4 separate regions of the Homo sapiens genome follow, and all the other regions are linked to region 2. Evidence: promoter capture Hi-C in human tissues and cell types (Jung and others, 2019). All regions are on one chromosome and are shown on one strand. The core of a region is centred on a gene start or on the middle of the fragment in contact, and the rest is flanking DNA. Distances in the headings are between cores, read along the strand shown. Region 1 has its middle 390 kb from the start of CCDC91. Region 2 holds the start of PTHLH (parathyroid hormone like hormone). Region 3 overlaps CCDC91 (coiled-coil domain containing 91). Region 4 has its middle 370 kb from the start of CCDC91.

The links. The method cuts DNA at HindIII sites, captures the fragments that hold promoters and counts their contacts. A contact is called where the count stands out against the background at its distance.
Region 1: a contact is called between a fragment that was not itself captured here and the fragment with the promoter of PTHLH in region 2, in 2 of the 25 tissues and cell types used here (IMR-90 fibroblasts and mesendoderm cells).
Region 3: a fragment that was not itself captured here is called in contact with the fragment with the promoter of PTHLH in region 2 in 2 of the 25 tissues and cell types used here (hippocampus and mesendoderm cells).
Region 4: a contact is called between a fragment that was not itself captured here and the fragment with the promoter of PTHLH in region 2, in 1 of the 25 tissues and cell types used here (IMR-90 fibroblasts).

What each region holds. Positions count from the first base shown.
Region 1 is chr12:28,574,275-28,578,451 of GRCh38, reverse strand. No RefSeq gene overlaps it. Among named protein-coding and RNA genes, the nearest start is that of CCDC91, 390 kb to the right of the region's middle. The HindIII fragment of the contact is 5,057 bases long and covers 1-4,177 here.
Region 2 is chr12:27,970,098-27,974,288 of GRCh38, reverse strand. PTHLH (parathyroid hormone like hormone) reads left to right here and starts at 1,556. Exons shown (of 6, transcript NM_198965.2): 1 at 1,556-1,766; 2 at 2,270-2,362; 3 at 4,022-4,191. The HindIII fragment of the contact is 6,422 bases long and covers 1-3,433 here.
Region 3 is chr12:28,524,519-28,529,239 of GRCh38, reverse strand. All of the region lies in intron 12 of CCDC91 (coiled-coil domain containing 91), which reads right to left. Among named protein-coding and RNA genes, the nearest start is that of CCDC91, 340 kb to the right of the region's middle. The HindIII fragment of the contact is 6,651 bases long and covers 1-4,721 here.
Region 4 is chr12:28,555,005-28,559,367 of GRCh38, reverse strand. No RefSeq gene overlaps it. Among named protein-coding and RNA genes, the nearest start is that of CCDC91, 370 kb to the right of the region's middle. The HindIII fragment of the contact is 3,155 bases long and covers 1-2,837 here.

The DNA of each region.
Region 1 (4,177 bases), core at 423-2,922, 600 kb before region 2:
ATGAAGAGACGGCTAAGCTTTTCCCCAGAAGCCCGGCTTCTGTATGGCCTGCCCATCTATACACAGAACCTTCTGCCTCCTGTTTTCTGTTCTCCCTTTCCTACATCCAGTTCTCAAGAGAGCTCACAGATCTTGCTATCTTAATTTACCCTAAGGTGGAAGTTAATCACAGCAATTATTCCTCGTAGAGACTTTTAAGACGGATCAAAACTTTATTCCCAAGAAACGAAATTCAAACAAGGAAAGTGCATTTATTTTAAATGGGAAACTTTTTGTTATATTTCCACTCTATCGACTCATTACACCAGAGTGATCTAAACAGCACATCTCTTCATGCTACTTCTTGCTCAAATTCTTCAATGACCTTCTATATCCTACAGGTACATTTTAAATTTTTAGCGAGACTCCCAGGCCTTTCAATATATGCCACTGCCTACATGTTCAACCTCATCTACCACTTCTCCCTCTTTCCACTTTAAATACAATACTGAGCTATTTCAAGTTATCTGAAAATGTTCTGTTCTCAGGCTCAGCTGCATAATTTCTGGGGACAAATGGAATATGAAAAGCCAAGGCTCATTGTTCAAAATGTACTAAAGAATTTTAAGACAGCAAGGGCAGAGCATTTGCCCAAGAGCAGAGGCTTCTCAGCATGGGTCCCTGAGTGATGGCAGGCTACAGGCCCATGAAGCGACCTATTCTAGAGATAATAACTCATAAATCCCCTGGCACTTGTTTTCAGGTGTCACAAAGAAACTGCTCAAATATTTTAATTTCCTTTTGCTCTGAATTACTATCTTTAGATCTGTTGAATTTTAAGTATAGGAATGCACTTGAATTTTACCACAGTGCATTTGTTCTTTTTCCAGGAAAACACTTGCATGACTAGAGCATGCAACACACTCCCTTGACCCTGGTGCCACTTACTCTCCTCAAGCCACTGTCATACTCTTTCCCTCTTTGGTACCTTTGCAACATACTATTCCCTCCTTCTGAAATGCAATTCACCTGTCTGTCATCTGATAAACTCCCACTCACCATCAGCTGCTCGGCTCAGTCTCCACCTTTGCTGTGAGGCCTTTCCCAATACCTGGGGGGCAGATTTAGGCTCAGGGTGCACATCTGCACTTTGTGATTAATTTATTGGATCTTAATCTTGTTCATACGAACAAGAGACTCTAGGCTATTCAAAGGCATCAATAGATCTTTGTATCTTCCATGTCTAGCATGGTGGCCTGGAGGAAGGATTCAAAAGTACTTCTTAAAATGAAAAGATGAGTGGTCAGCTTTAACATTTTTTACTTATTTCAAAAGTAGTTTCTTGGAAGAAAAACATTTCTAAAGCCAAGGGGTAGCTTAAATGTGATTCTATCTTTTGGAATTACTAGGTGGGGTTGTTAATTTACTTCTAGTTTCCACAAAGGGAGGACATTCTGAAGAAAGAACTGAACTTCGTGGTCTTTCAAATCTAATCCATGTGGGTTTGACCCCTGGAGATGTGTTCAGTCCTGCTGAGTGGAGGATTGTGGCAGATGGGACAATTTGAAAATGTCACCAAGAATGCCTCCCTAGACTGGTTGCATATGGGAAATTTTATTCTTATTTCAAATATCAGCAACTATTTGAGGTCTACAGTCAATTTCTTAGGGCGGACGATCTAGTCTGTGGTTGCTGTAGGTTCTTCCTGCCTCCTCCTCCTTCGTGACTTCTAACTATTCTGACTGTTGCCCTACCATGGGTGGGTGCAGAAATACCTTTCATGCTGAAATTCCAACCAATAAAGTCTGCTTTTTTAAAACGTATGGTTTGTCTATGAATTTCATGTACCTAAGCTATCTTCATTCCTGGCTGACACATAAAAGAGCATTAGCAGAATATCATATTTACTTAGGTTTTTTTTTTCCTCTAAATTGCACATATTGTTCTGAGCACAGTATAAGAGAAAATCTAGGAAATCGTTTAAAATTTTAACCTTTTAACATGTGCTTTAGCAATTGGTGTGTACCCTGTCCTTGCACACAGTCTAAGGGGTTGTAACAGCATTTGCTTGTTTCTTTCTGGCCAGGTCATGGAGAGAAGAGAGCTCATTGTTACCAGCTTTCTGCCTACATTGCTGTTCTCAATCTTTCTTGCTCTACTTTTGTTTGTTTCCTTTTCTCTTGAAGCTGGTGCACTTTCATTCCTTCAACACACCTCCAGCCTGGTGGATATCACTACTGAACTGGGAGAAAGGATGGCTAGGTCCGGGCATGAATCTAAAAATGCAAGAAAATCTTCAACAGGTTAGATGCATCTTCAGCAGGTGTTGAAACCTAAATCTCCATTGGGACAGGTAAGTTTATCCACCTGCTCTGAAAGCAAATCCTAGACTGTCTAAACCAAGTGACTCATTAAGAGGAGCAGGAAACACATGAGAAATCTTGGATTGAATCAGAAAGTCGACTAGCAAGGCAGCTTTATCCTTCTCTTGGATGTTAATGGTTCAGTTTTAATTTTAACCTGTTTGGGTGGATTTCCTATTGACTCATTCATTCTGAGTTTTGTCAAACGTGCATTCCCAAATGCAAGTCCGATTTGCTTGGATACTTAATTCATTTGGGAGCCTTAAACTTGCTTTCCTAGGCTGGACTCTCAGGGTTGGGAGGGAGTTCAATGGGTTATGCAGTCTGTCCCCATCTGACACCTGAATCTGTCCTACCACTGCCATGTCTGGGTCTGTGTCCTCTTTGCCTACACATTCCCAGGGGTGGAAAATTAACTGCTGTCCAAGGTTGCCTACTTAATCCTTGATCAGCTCTATTAGCAATATCTTCTTTTCATAAGCCACACATCAGCTAAGTTCAGCTTGCCCTTTCAGGATTCAAATGAAATTGTTTTGCATTCTCCTTCCTTATGTGGTGAGCCATTTAACAACTCTCTCAAACTCTCTGCTAATCTTTGACATGTGGGCAAGTTGTTTATAATGTTCCTGGCTACCTCTGGCTGAGGCCTAATCACTCCATGTACGGGCTCCCTCTCTTTTCTGTGCCTGCTCTCTGTTCTGTGTACCCTGTCACTCCACACTGAACATTCCCCGTCTTCCTGTTTGGACATTCTACGGGAGCCTGTCTCAAACACAAGGCTATGTGATGTGTGGGATGGATTTTAACAGGAGAATTGGGGCAATTGTTGGAGTTTACAGGACATCAACCAAACAACCTATGATTACATATCAGACACTTCTATTCTTTAAAGTCTTTCAGCCACCCCATCACCAGGAGCCTCTCTCCTTGGACACTTTTTCTGTAGCTTCGGCCTCTCAGCATGGCACTTGGCCCTGTCTCTTCTTCTAACTCCTCCCTCTTCTGTCTAGTTTCATGCTTCTATATCAACTTCTAGTTAGCTTCTTCTACATAGAAATTTGATTTTGCTTTTTATTCTTCTAAACTTTGACCTTTGGACCTCATGCCCCACAGCCTGGGCAGTTTGTCAACATATCTTTCCAAACATTGCCCATTTCCTGGAAGTCTTGTGCCAGCTGTTACCCTGCCTCCATGTGGTTACCTGAAGCCCAAGTCTGACTCACTGTAGCTTCTATCTCATTCATTAAAGCCTGCCCTCTCTTCGCTGGCCTGTTGCTCTGGAGTCATTGCTATGGTCAGAAAGAACACAGGCTTTGGAATTAGACCTGAATTTGAATCCCAGACCTACTACTCAAAAGCTGTGTGATACCCATCATGCTATCTTTTGAGGCCATGTTTTTCAGCCATGAAATGGTGACAATTATACCCCCTAAAAGCTTTGTGTGATAATTTGATTAGGTGATGCACAGGGTCTGGTATATGGTACACACTCAAAAATGTTTATTTCCTTCCCTTCTTCTTATCCAGCTTCAGACTGCAGCATTGGTGTAGGTGAATCTTCCTCAGACTGGCTGGATCCATTTATTTTGACCTCTGCCCCTTACCTACTTGATATCTTGGCTCTCAGGGATTTTTAATCCAGTCTCTGCTTTCATCCCCGTCTTTGGATTTCAGTACTCAGCTACTTCCACTCTATGCTCCAGATGCATGGAACTAGTCGGTGATCCCAAACTTTCTCATCTCTGGAAGCTTGCCATGATATTTTCCACTTTTTTGCATGGACAGCCTCTACTCAGGTATCACTTGAACACCACCCTCCCATGCAGAAAACCTTC
Region 2 (4,191 bases), core at 307-2,806:
CTCTCTGTGGCCTCGTACAAGTCCAGAGCTGCCTACTTTCAGGAGCCAAAAACTTGGCCAGCCAAGGGCAGGCATCTGGCTGGCTGGCACCAGTCCAGGAGATCAGGACTGGGACACTGCACATTCATATTCTCTCTCTCTCTCTCTCTCTCTCTCTCTCACACACACACACACACACACACACACACACACACAGAGACATATCTGAAGAAGACTCTTCAGATATGTTTCAATTGTCAGGAGTTTGCGAGGTGCTCAAGTGCTTGACCTTTAAGAACCGGTTCTCAGAGACCCCCATTTCCTAAAGACCTTCTCATCTCACATTGGTTTGGGTTCCTCCCAGGAAACCGCCTCCTCTCTGGGCCTCCTGCTTCAGTTTGGGGGAAGCAGAACATTGCCCAGGAAGTAGGGAAGGGTGAGGAAGGGTGTGAGGCCCACTTTTCCCATGGGAGGATCCCATCAGCTTGATGCATATCTATACACTCCTCCCTGAGGCAGTTCCTCCAGAGGTTAGCAGCCCGCCCTGTTCCTGGAGAAGTCTTATCCTCACCTAACTACAAAAAGATTTAATAAAGAAACACACCCTTTCCTATTGTTACTTGGGGTTTGAAGGCATTACATCTTTTTTTCTTTTTTGCTACCTTGAGGTCAGCTGGCAACAGCCTCCTCTCAAGTCTCAGTCCAGGCGAGCGATGAGAGCCACATTCTAATGGAATCCAATGAGAGCATTACTTGAGCTGATTATGCAACGTCTCTTTGTAAACATTGAAAAAAGTTTGGAGAAGAGATGGGATGAGTTTAGTTGTTTGGTTCCAGGGGATTTTAGAGACATAGCTTGCAGCTACAGATTGGTAAATGTGAAATCTGGATGCTTATTGGTAATAAGAGAATTCCCAAGCCCAGGTGCACTGTTTAAAGTGCTATAGATTCATATTTGGTTTATAATGTATATCTGTTTGCTGTTTGGGTTAAGGAGGAAAGAAGAAAGAAGGATGAAGAGGCTAAGCATAAATGCTATTTACTTTTTTCTAAGCTATGACAGGAGATATACATTAACTGGGTATTCAACTGAATTTAAGAGTAATGCATTTAAAATTTTTTCAACCTCTTTTAAAATTTGATATACTGTAATAAACTGCCACTGGGGATGGGAAGATGGAAGCCTGGTGCTCATGGGCTAGGCATTTGTGTAGGTGTAGATCTTATAATGCTAAACATGGAAATACTTCAGATTAGAGGCAGGCCTTCCCATTTGCTAAGGTGCATTTACATGACAGCAAGGCCTAAGCAAACATTTAGCTTCTATTGGCACTTGTTCTATTTCTAAACCTTAGAAAAAAGGTGTGTGTGTGGGCTGGGGGGACGGGGGGGGGAGGGAGGTGGTAGGGGGTGCTCTTGCTGTGTCTCATTTGCAGTCATGCATCCTCTGCATTATTATGATGGAGATTACTCAGTTATGTTAGGAACTAGATTATGATGTCAGAAAATATCCTTTCCAAAACAGGCAAAAAGTCAGGGTCCTGGGTATATATTGAGGAGAATTTCTACGGAAAGTAATAAACAGGGCAGCTTGGAAGAGGTACCTGCTTTCTAATAATTGCCTTTAGTGGGAACAGAAGTCTCCTTTCAAGAAGCTTTTAATTCATTTTAAGATTTAATTTTATGTTTTCTGAAGAACAACAAAAAATATTTCTGGAAAAGACTGCTGAGAAGATTTCCCTCTTTCAGCCAGAAGAGCAGAGAGAAGATTGTAAATCAAGGAAAAGGTGAAGTAATAAATTAGGAGGGAACTTTGGTATTCCGAGTATATAAAGACTATTTATTTTTCCTGTGTCTATATTTTCTCTTTTTGTGGAGGAGAGGAAATTCTAAAAATATTTGATAGATGTTTTGCCATTAACACCAGAAAAGTGTGTGGGGAAAAAGAAAGGAGGGAAGGAGTGGGGGGTTAATTTTGTTTAATTAGTAGAAAAAGCAACATAAATCAAAGCAGTCTATTGATGCCAGTCCTTAATTTATAATGTTCTGAAAGTAAAGTGAATTTATTTACAACATAAGTGATTTGATAATTTCAATCTGATTTTTGTTTTAACCTTCTATTGGGAGAAGGGTTGACTTTTTAAAGCCTGGATAGTTTGAAACTTGGCTAGGTACCTTGGACTTTTTATTGTGGAAGCAAATATTATCATTTCAATGTTAAACAACTTGCAAGTATTAAATGGCTCATTTGTGATTGACTTTTTTTTTTTTTTTTTTTTTTTTTTTACAGATTTCCCCCTTCAGATCTAACGATTACATTAGGGCTCCTGCATCTTTTTGGAAGGATTCTTTTTATAAATCAGAAAGTGTTCGAGGTTCAAAGGTTGACATTTCTGAGTGCTGATACTTTGTCCTTTCATACTATCCAAACAAGTCTAACATTTAGAAATCCTTACACATTCAAGGGAAGTTGTGGAAATTCCCAGAGAGAGAGTGTGTGTGTGTGCGTGTGTGTGTTTTGGTTTTGTTTTGCTTTTTTTCTTTGTTAGTGAGAAGAAGCCGAGTCTTTTAAGGTACGGGGTTTACAGTAATGAACTGAGGAAGGCAGGAGCTTCTAAGAAAATATGCCCCCCCACCCAACCTAAGCAGTAAACTTTAACTGCTAGCTAGCTGCAGTGAACCAGTGGGAGCCCCGATGAGCGAGGGTCTCGGTGACAGCGTGCTATTTCTCCCACCCTGGGTAAAATATGTGGAGCATCACCCGGAAAGTCGGGCTTGATAAAGGCCACATTCCTTGAATCATCTCAAGAATCTAAATCACACTAGCCTTCTAGAAACTAATGAACCCTACCAGCAGGATTGCCTAGAAGACAAATATCCCTTGAATGGTTCCCAGTCCACTCGCGCTCTTTTCAAAAAGTTAGAGGAGCCCTGGGGAGGGTATCCACTCCCGCTGCAATCCTTTCCTAGATGATACTACCCAGTAATTCCGAGCAGTCTTTCTTCCCCGCCCATTAGCTTTGGAAAGAACCTCGGCTTTCCCGTCGCTTCTCCCAGGCAGAGCAGCACATAACCATAGTTCCACTGCATCTGTCCGCTGGCTGCAGCGACTCGGATACAGTCTTCCAAGAATCTGTAACCTGGGACTTTTGAGGGGGAGGGGACAAGCAGGTAGGGTATCAGAGAAAGGATGGGTTAGACTCCCGACCATGAGTGAAAAGGGCCGTGTGCGTGCTCCAGGAGTGTCGGTCCCCCTCTGCAATTCAAAAGGGGGATCTCTCCTGTGCGCGGGTTTTTTGGGACCGGCTCCAGATGTCTCCCAGCAGTTCTGAAACAGCAAAAAGTGCAATTTAGATATGAAATCTGGAACTGTTTTTGTTCTTCTAAGCAAAAGATCTCCCTCTCTCTAGCCGATGCTCCCCACTCAGTTCATCCCGGGAATGGGCCAGGGAGGAAGGTTCTCATGCATCGCCCCGAGCTGCCAGGCGAGCTTCGGGCTCCTTAAATTCACAGGCCAACAGCCCGCGTCCTCTCCGCGCAGGCTCCCGGTTGCCCGCGGTCCCCGGCCCAGCTCCTTGGCCTCCTCCTCGTCGGTCCGCCCCTGGTGGTCTTGGCGCCCGCTCGTCCAGCTCGGCGCGCCGGGGACCGCCGGCTGCCCGGGGCAGTCCGCACGCCCTCGGGGATCTCGGCTCCCGGATCCGCCGCGCCGGCAGGAGCCGGCCGGGCCTGGAGGGAGCAAGCGGATGCGCCCACGCCCCCGGCACGGGGATGGCGCGACAGGGCCCGGGCTCCGGGGTGGGGCTCGGCAGAGCTCCTGACAGCTCCGGGGTCGGCAGCGCGGGAGGGGGGAGCTCCGCCGCTCGCCGCTCATTCCCGGCTCGGGGCTCCCCTCCACTCGCTCGGGCGGCGCGGGGCCCGTTCGGGCCGCCCGTCGCCGCCCCCGCCCCCCGCGCGCCCGCCCGCCAGCCCGCCTGCGCCCTCGCTCGCCCCGCGCGCGTTCCTAGGGCGCCACCTCTTTGCGACTAGCTCACTTCTCCGGCAGGTTTGCCTCGGAGCGTGTGAACATTCCTCCGCTCGGTTTTCAACTCGCCTCCAACCTGCGCCGCCCGGCCAGCATGTCTCCCCGCCCGTGAAGCGGGGCTGCCGCCTCCCTGCCGCTCCGGCTGCCACTAACGACCCGCCCTCGCCGCCACCTGGCCCTCCTGATCGACG
Region 3 (4,721 bases), core at 1,776-4,275, 550 kb before region 2:
AAAACAGCAAAACACTAGACATATAAGAAACAAACACAAAATAACAGTCTGTTAAAATTGTTTTTCTCTTTTTAGAGGTAAGACATAATCAGTATGTCATATGTTTAAATAAAGAAGTACAAAGTAGGAAGCATAATCTCTCACAATCCAACCTCTCACAGAAAAGCATCAATCATCTTTCCTTTGCTTATTTAAATATACTTTTATATATATATACATACATACATATACATAGAAACAGATATAGCAAAATATATTTCAATAGGATCATATGATTCAGGTGATTTTGCAACCATATCAACAAATATAGATAAATATCATTCTTTTAATGGATGCATAGTATTCCACAGTAACATAGTTCATTTAACTAGTTTCCGATTGATAGACATTTAAGTTGTTTATACTTTTGAAAATATCAAAAAATAAAACTCGAGTGAGCTAAGATCGCCCAGCCTGAGTGACAGGGCAAGACACTGTCTCTAAAAAAACAAACATAAAAACCCCTAAACCATCCTCTGGGTAAGTCACAAATATGAGACTCAGCCACTCCTGCTCAAAAACCTTCAGTGGGGTGAAACAGATCATGGCAGACGGGAGGCAGGACTAGATTGCAGCCCCCACTTGGACGTACAGAACATCATATGGAGGCTTGCATCATGAACTTTTGCTCCAGAACCAGTGCAAGAAAACGTTAGGAAAGCCAAGAGAACCCACAGACCCTCTGAAGGAAGTGGATTGCTCCTGCAGGACCTGGGAGACACCCCAAATACTGTGGGTGCCCAAACTGTGGAAGCAGGAAAGGGAGATCGTCTGCCCCAGAATACACCCCCACACTGGGGAACCTGAAGCTCTAGATGATGGGAAAAGATTCTAACCTTAACTGGAACTGAGTCAATTTAGAGAGCCAAGGGAAATACAGAGGTAGAGGAAGCAACATGCAAAGCCCTGTGGGCTTGCTCTAGGGTCCCCCTGTGGGCTTGCTAGGGTCCCCTAGCAAGGCATTTTCTGCCTTGCCTCACAGGGGCCCTTGAGGAGGGCTGCCAGAGGCACTGGGAAAAAAACCACAGGGAGAAGGAAACCTCCAGTGGAACTTTGCAACAATTTGAACCGATTGAGAAGTCTCCTGGCCAGAACTCTGAAGAGGGCATGAATCCAGCGTGCAGACTCCACAGGTGGGGGGAGAAGGAAAGCCCTGCTTACTTTCACAGCTGGGAGGTGGGTAACATGGGGCAAGTTCTTAGCCCTGCTCACTCACTGCCTGGAAACAGACTTGGTGCTCTTGGCGGGGGGGCACAGTGGGAGTGAGACCAGCCATTTGGGTTAGACGGGAGCTGAGTGAGGCCTGTGACTCCTGTCTTTCCCCCAGTTTCCTGGCAACCTGCATGACACAACAGAGGCAGCCATAATCCTCCTAGGAACATAATTCCACTGACGTGGGAACCTCACCCCCATCTCCCACAGCAGTTGCAGCAAGACCTGCCCAAGTAGAGTCCAAGCCCAGGCATGCCTAGCCCTGCCACCATCTAATGGTCCTTTCCTACCACCCTGGTAACTGAAGACAATGGGCATATACTCTTGGGAGTTATGGGGCCCCACCTACCAAATGTTCCCCCCCCATACTCCCATAGCTGATGCTCTCTTGCAAGTGCCACTTCCCAGCAGGTCAACCAGCACAAAAATAGCACACTAATCAACCAAAGCTAAGAACACTCAGAGTCCATTTCACTCCCCTGCCACTGCCACCCGAGCAGGTGCTCGTATCCATGGCTGAGAGACCCAAAGATGGTTCACATCACAGGACTCTGTGCAGACAACCTCCAGTACTAGCCCAGAGTCTGATACATTTGCTAGGTGGCTATATCCAGAAGAGAGATAACAATCATTACAGCTCAGCTCTCGGGAACCCCCATCCCTAGGAAAGGAGAAGAGTATTACATCAAGGGAGTATCCCGTGGGACAAAATAATCTGAACAAGAGCCTTGAGCCCTAGACCTTCTTCTGACAGAGCCTATCCAAATAAGAAACCAGAAAACCAACCCTGGTAATGGGAAAAAACAAGGTTCTTTAACACCCCCTAAAAATCACACTAGCTCACCAAATATGAATCCAGACCAAGAAGAAATCCCTGATTTACCTGAAAAAGAATTCAGACAGTTAGTTATTAAGCTAATAAGGGAGGCACCAGAGAAAGGCAAAGTCCAATGTAAGGAAATCCAAAATATAATACAAGAAGTGAAAGGAGAACTATTCAAGGAAATAAATAGCATAAATAATAAACAATTAAACCTTCAGGAAATGATGGACACACTTATAGAAATACAAAATGCTCTGGAAAATCTCAGCAATAGAATTGAACAAGCAGAAGAAAGAACTTCAGAGCTTGAAGATAAAGTTTTCAAATTAACCCAATCCAACAAAGACAAAGAAAAAAGAATAAGAAAATATGAACAAAGACTCCAAGAAGTCTGGGATTATGTTAAATGGCCAAACCTAAGAATAATCGGTGTTCCTGAGGAGGAAGAGAAAACTAAAAGTTTAGAAAATATATTTGGGGGAATAATTGAGGAAAAGTTCCCCAGCCTTGCTAGAAACCTAGACATCCAAATACAGGAGGCTCAAACAACACCTGGGAAATTCATCATAAAAAGATAATCACCTAGGCACACTGTCAACAGGTTATCTAAAGTTAAGATGGAGGACAGAATTTTAAGAGCTGTGAGGCAAAAACACCAGGTAACCTATAAAGGAAAACCAATCAGATTAACAATAGATTTCTCAGCAGAAACCCTACAGGCTAGAAGGATTGGGGCCCTATCTTTAGCCTCCTCAAACAAAACAATTATCAGCCAAGAATTTTGTACCCAGCAAAACTAAGCTTCATAAATGAAGGAAAGATACAGTCTTTTTCAGACAAACAAACATATGCTGAGAAAATTTGCCACTACCAAGCCAGCACTACAAGAACTGCTAAAAGGAGCTCTAAATCTTGAAACAAATTCTGGAAACACATCAAAACAGAACCTCTTTAAAGCATAAATCTCACAGGACCTATAAAACAAAAATACAATTAAAAAAAAAAAAACCAAGGTATACAGGCAACAAATAGCATGATGAATGGAATAGTACCTCACATCTCAATACTAACATTGAACATAAATGGCCTAAATGCTCCACTTAAAAGATACAAAATTGCCGAATAGATAAGAATTCATCAACTAAATATCTGCTGCCTTCGAGACACACCTAACACATATGGACTCACACAAACTTAAGGTAAAGGGATGGAAAACAACATTCCATGCAAATGGACACCGAAAGTGAGCAGGAGTAGCTATTCCTATATCACATAAAACAAACTTTAAAAACAGCAGTTAAAAAAGACAAAGAGGGACATTATATAACAATAAAAGGCTTTGTCCAACAGGGAAGTATCAGAATCATAAATATATAAATTTGGGAGATCCCAAATTTATAAAACAATTACTAATAGACCTAAGAAATGAGATAGACAGCAACATAATAATAGTGGGGGGACTTAAATACTACACTGACAGCACGAGACAGGTCATCAAGACAGAAAGCCAACAAAATAACAATGCATTTAAACTATACCCTGGAACAAGTAGACTTAACAGATATTTACAGAACGTTCTACCCAACAACCACAGAATATACATTCTAATCAACAGTGCATGGAACTTTCTCCAAGATAGACCATATGACAGGCCACAAAACAAGCCTCAATAAATTTAAGAAAATTGAAATTATATCAAGCACTCTCTCAGACCACAGTGGAATAAAACTGGAAATCAACTCCAAAAGGAACCTTCAAAACCATGCAAATACATGGAAATTAAATGACTTGCTCCCGAATGATCATTGGGCTAACAATGAAATCATGATGGAAATTAAAAACTCTTCGAACTGAATGACAATAGTGACACAACCTATCAATACCTCTGGGATACAGCAAAGGTGGTGCTAGGAGGAAAGTTTACAGCCCTAAACGCCTATATCAAAGAGTCTGAAAGAGCACAAACAGATAATCTAAAGTCACACCTCAAGGAACTAGAGAAGTAAGAACAAACCAAACCCAAACCCAGCAGAAGAAAGGAAATAACCGAAATGTGAGCAGAACCAAGTGAAACTGAAACAAACAAAAAACAATACAAAAGATACATGAAACAAAAAGCTGGTTCTTTGAAACGATAAATAAAATTGAATTACCATTAGCAAGATTAACCAAGAAAAGAAGAGAGAACATCCAACTAAGCTCAATTAGAAATGAAATGGGAGATATTACAACTGACATCACAGAAATACTAAACATCATTCAAAGCTACTATGAACACCTTTATGTGCATAAACCAGAAAACCTAGAGGAGATGGATAAATTCCTGGAAAGACAAACACTCCTATCTTAAATCAAGAAGAATTAGATACTTAGAACAGACCAATAAAAAGCAGTGAGACTGAAAGGGTAATAAAAAATTACCAACAAAACAAGTCCAGGACCAGACGCATTCACAACAGCTTTATACCAGACATTAAAAAAGAACTGTTACCAATCCTATTGACACTATTCTACAAGACAGAAAAAGAGGGACGCCTCCCTAAATCATTCTATGAAGCCAGTATCACCCTAATATCTAAATCAGGAAAGGATACAACCAAAAAAGAAAACTACCGACCAATATCCCTGTTGAACAGATATGCAAAAA
Region 4 (4,363 bases), core at 11-2,510, 590 kb before region 2:
CGATAGTGAATAAATAAATCTCTTGAGATCTGATGGGTTTATAAAGGGGAGTTCCCCTGCACACACTCTACTGCCCACTGCCATGTGAGAAGTCCCGTTGCTCTTCCTTTGTCTTCTGCCATCATTGTGAGGCCTCCCCAGGCGTGTGGAACTGTGAGTCTACTAAACCTTTTTCTTTATAAATTACTCAGTCTTCGGGTATGAAGGTTACAAGAATTGAGTTGATTTTCTGAAACTTCTTTAGAATAGCTTTTATTTCTGGGACTTTTCAACACCAGATTCCAGATAGATTAAAAAACTGATCAATCTCAAACCTGATATATAAAGTTGACACAAACAATTTAGAACTAAATTGTTAACATTTATTTACCATATTTAGTTTCCTCTTCAGTCATAAAGGTATGATTAAACTTATTGGCTCAGCCATTGGAATTGGCTAGAGATCCTTGAAGAAGAAAAAATTTTATGAATTTAAAAGAAACAGAAGCCAAGCTTAATTTTAACCTTTCTTCACAGTCTTTAATCATATCATCAATCTTCTTGTTTGGATGTCATTTAGGATAGGGTGAAATACCATCTGCTATGGAAAAGCTCAAACGCAGTATTTTCTGGATGTACTGGACTAGGTAAAGTCTGCAATTCCCCTCCAGACCTAGGATTTGATGTGTAGACAGAACGTGCAATTTTGCAATCTGCTGAGCCAGAAGAGGATTTAATATTACATCCAGAACTGTACTCAAATTGTCAAAAAATGTTCAATAAAATAACTGTAAATCATACTCAGTTAAACTAGCTGGCAAAGGTAGCATGACAAAATTGAGAAATAATGCATATGGGACATAGTGATATTTACATGTTTTCAGGGCTTACGCCCTGGGTGGCTATTTACAAGACAGCAGTTTCCACCCTTCCCCTCCACTTCAGGTTTGATACAAGGCCAAGTCCTCAATCTGACTTTATATGACTGTGGTCTAGTTCAGATTAGTATTTGTCACCACTCTTCATAGCAGACAGGAATTCAGCAGACTGGGGAAGAAGGAAAAGGAGGACAGGGAAGAAATTAAGGGACTAAGTCTGTTGAAGGTAAACATACCTGTGATCTGCTGCCTGGGATAATCACAACAGTAAAACATGAAGTTTGCATGCCAGGCAGATGCTCACAGTTTAACACTTTTTAGATAACCACTGAAGGAAAGAGCATCTTAGAATTCTCAACATATTTGCTGCCACCAAAAAAAAAAAAAAAAAAAAAAAAGTCATGCAATAAAGCATTATTTTTATGCACCCTCTCTGAAAATGTTTTGCAGAATTCTAAGCTTCTTACTTAGAAGCTAACAGAACATCTCGCTGGAAGATGATAGATCATAAACATTCTTCAAATAAAGTAAGACACAGTTTAACAGAAAACTGTCAATCAGAACAAATGAATCAGTATAACAAACATATATATATTTTTTGAGATGGATTCTCGCTCTGTTGCCAGGCTGGAATGCAGAGGTGCAATCTCGGCTCACTGCACCCTCCGCCTGCCGGATTCAAGTAGCTGGGATTACAGGTGCCCACCACCACGCCCAGCTAAGTTTTGTATTTTTAGTAGAGCCGGGGTTTCACCATGTTGGCCAGGATGGTCTCGATCTCTTCACCTCGTGGTCTACTGGCCTCGGCCTCCCAAAGTGTTGGGATTACAGGCGTGAGCCACTGCACTCAGCCCAAACATATTTTTAAAAGCCAAAAAATAATATATCATCAATCCTAAAAATATTAACAAAAATAGTGACAAATTTAAAAGTAAGGATGATGTAAACAGCCACTGTTTCTTTATGAATACAGGACATAAACTCTTAACTACGGGCCAGACACGGTTTTAATTGCTTTTTATGTATTAGCACTCAAACAATCTTATGAAGTACATTCTATTGTCGTCTTTCTAAAACTGAGGAAACTGAGGCACTGGAGATCTTATATGTTAAGCTGGTAAATGACAGCCTTGAGACTTGAACCAGGGAGGCTGGCTCCATGCTGGATGAACTATGGTAAGTTATGAAAGGGAGGAACGCAAATCTCTAAGTTTTGCAATGGGAACAATACTCATTTATGTATTTCCAAATAATATGTGATGTGGTTTCCCATGCTGATATCATGGATGAGCTGTATCAGTTTCAATGAATAGGTAAAATTTGAGGAAAGAAGCTGGTAGTTTCAGGTTTTGTGTTATGTTCTTTCTTTGAATAAAATTTAGGACAGAATGAAATTACTTTATTCACTCTTTCAATTTTCTTCTTTGAAAATGTTAAGATTATAATGCTTATTATGCCACTGACTTACTGATTTGGACTGATGATTTTAAGAATTGATTAGAGCTTTGGGGAAGATTAATCTTCTGGAAGAATTTTTATTGTTACATTATATTAGCTAAATTATAGTTGATTTCTTGATTTTATATTTCAGCCAGGCCTTTTTTTCATTAAGCTAATGTAACTCCAGGTTAAGTCACTGTATTGAAGTAGGATTGATTTTCTTGAGCTGTGGAACATAAGTCTTTTCCCACTAGGTAAACAATAGCAATTAAATGAAATTTGGCATAGAAGGGAAATGATTTTCCCACAGTTTTGTCCCACCAGCATACAAACTGGTCTGATGCCTCACAAGCCAGAGGGCTTAGTGCAGCTTTGGTGATATACCACTCAGCATAATCTGGTTGTCAAAAAGCTGTGCCTGGAGCTTGTGCTGAGAAAGATCATTAGCATCCTTTGGTGGGAGATATATTACAAAAGTGAATCCAAACAGAATGCGTGGCTAAATTTAAAAAAGTAGGTGAATATTACTTGCAAAAGGCAATACCTGCCCTTGTGAAAAGCGTGGGCATCAGGCCGACCTGGTATGGAACCGGCAGTGATCATTGGTAAGTTAATTAGCCTCTGTAAGCATTGCTTTCCTCTTCTTTAATAGGAGGTATCTACCTCACAGAACTGTTAAAGGCACTCACTAGTTGTAATATGACTAGCACAATACATGGTATAATTCAAGCTCAGTAATTTTTTAAAACGAAAAGCTACTTCTCAACAAATTCAATTACTGGGGCGGGGGGGGGGGGCGGTGGTGTAAGTAAAATAATTTCAAAGGCATAATAATTAGACATTATTTTGCATTCCCCAAAGTCCATTTTGGAAGTCTGAATCTTTATATGCAGTTACTCATTTTCTGCTTAATCTTTAAAACTATGGTCATAATGATTCTCCAGGCAACTCTCAAAAACAAACCAAGGCAGAAATTCAAATTTAAATAGACGAGTTTCTATTTTTAGGATAATTTTGGCCGAAGATCAGAGAAATCCTTTCTTGGTGGCACTAAACTAGAAGTGTTCCCAGCTCTAAGAATCATACACTAGAAAGTTTTCCAGTAAGGTCTCCTTTAATCTGTACGCATTATGCAATTAAATAATATATCAACAGCACTGGGTTCTCAGCTTTCTTTTTTTCTTGAAGTGTTTCACATGCATTTGTACTCATGACATGCCTACTCTACACACCAATCTTAAAAAGAAAGGAAGGAAACAAACGTAACTGTGTTTGTGTGATTAGGAGAAATAACTTGGTTACTGCTTCCCCTCTGGCAAGGGAATCTCTATATTTGCATTTTCCAAGAGTAGCCACTAGTCACATGTAACTATAAAATTTAAATAAAATAAAATTAATTAGTGTCCTCTGTCACACTAGCCACATTTCAAGTGTTCAGTAACCACATGTAGCTAGGAGCAAGCAAGCTGGGCCGTGCATATAGAGAGAGTTTCCATCATCTCAGAAACTTTTATCAGGTAACATTGCCAAATGATTGACAACGACGATACCCAATTACAGTATAATTTTTCTTTCTTATTAAGTGTACTAAGATACAGGCACCCTCTATTCTTTAAAAGTATGTAAAAATACCTCTAGCACAAAATGTAAAACTAAAGACCATCTCAGACCTTTATTCCCACCCCTTCCCCTTGTATTGGCTTACTTAAATTATTTCATGGAAATGGAATGGTTCCAGCCTTGTGATCCCATGTTCTGCTAGTGAGCCTATCAAATTCACCTATGTCATAAAGAAGCATGGCATGGCTCCCTGACAGCTTGTTGAAGTAGGATTGCCTGAGGCTACCTGACACAGTCCACCTATCAAGTACTCCTATTAATCAGCTGAATATATAATAATTAGAACAGCTATTCAAAAAAGGACATGTTGGAACTGTTACCTAAAAGCCAGGTGGTTTTAGGCAATAAAATGGCCCTTTCCTTTCCTGCTGCTCTTATTTAAGATTTATTGGATTTTGCAATTTTCCCTCCCTCTTGACCCCATTCCCATTTTACTTAAGCTTCCT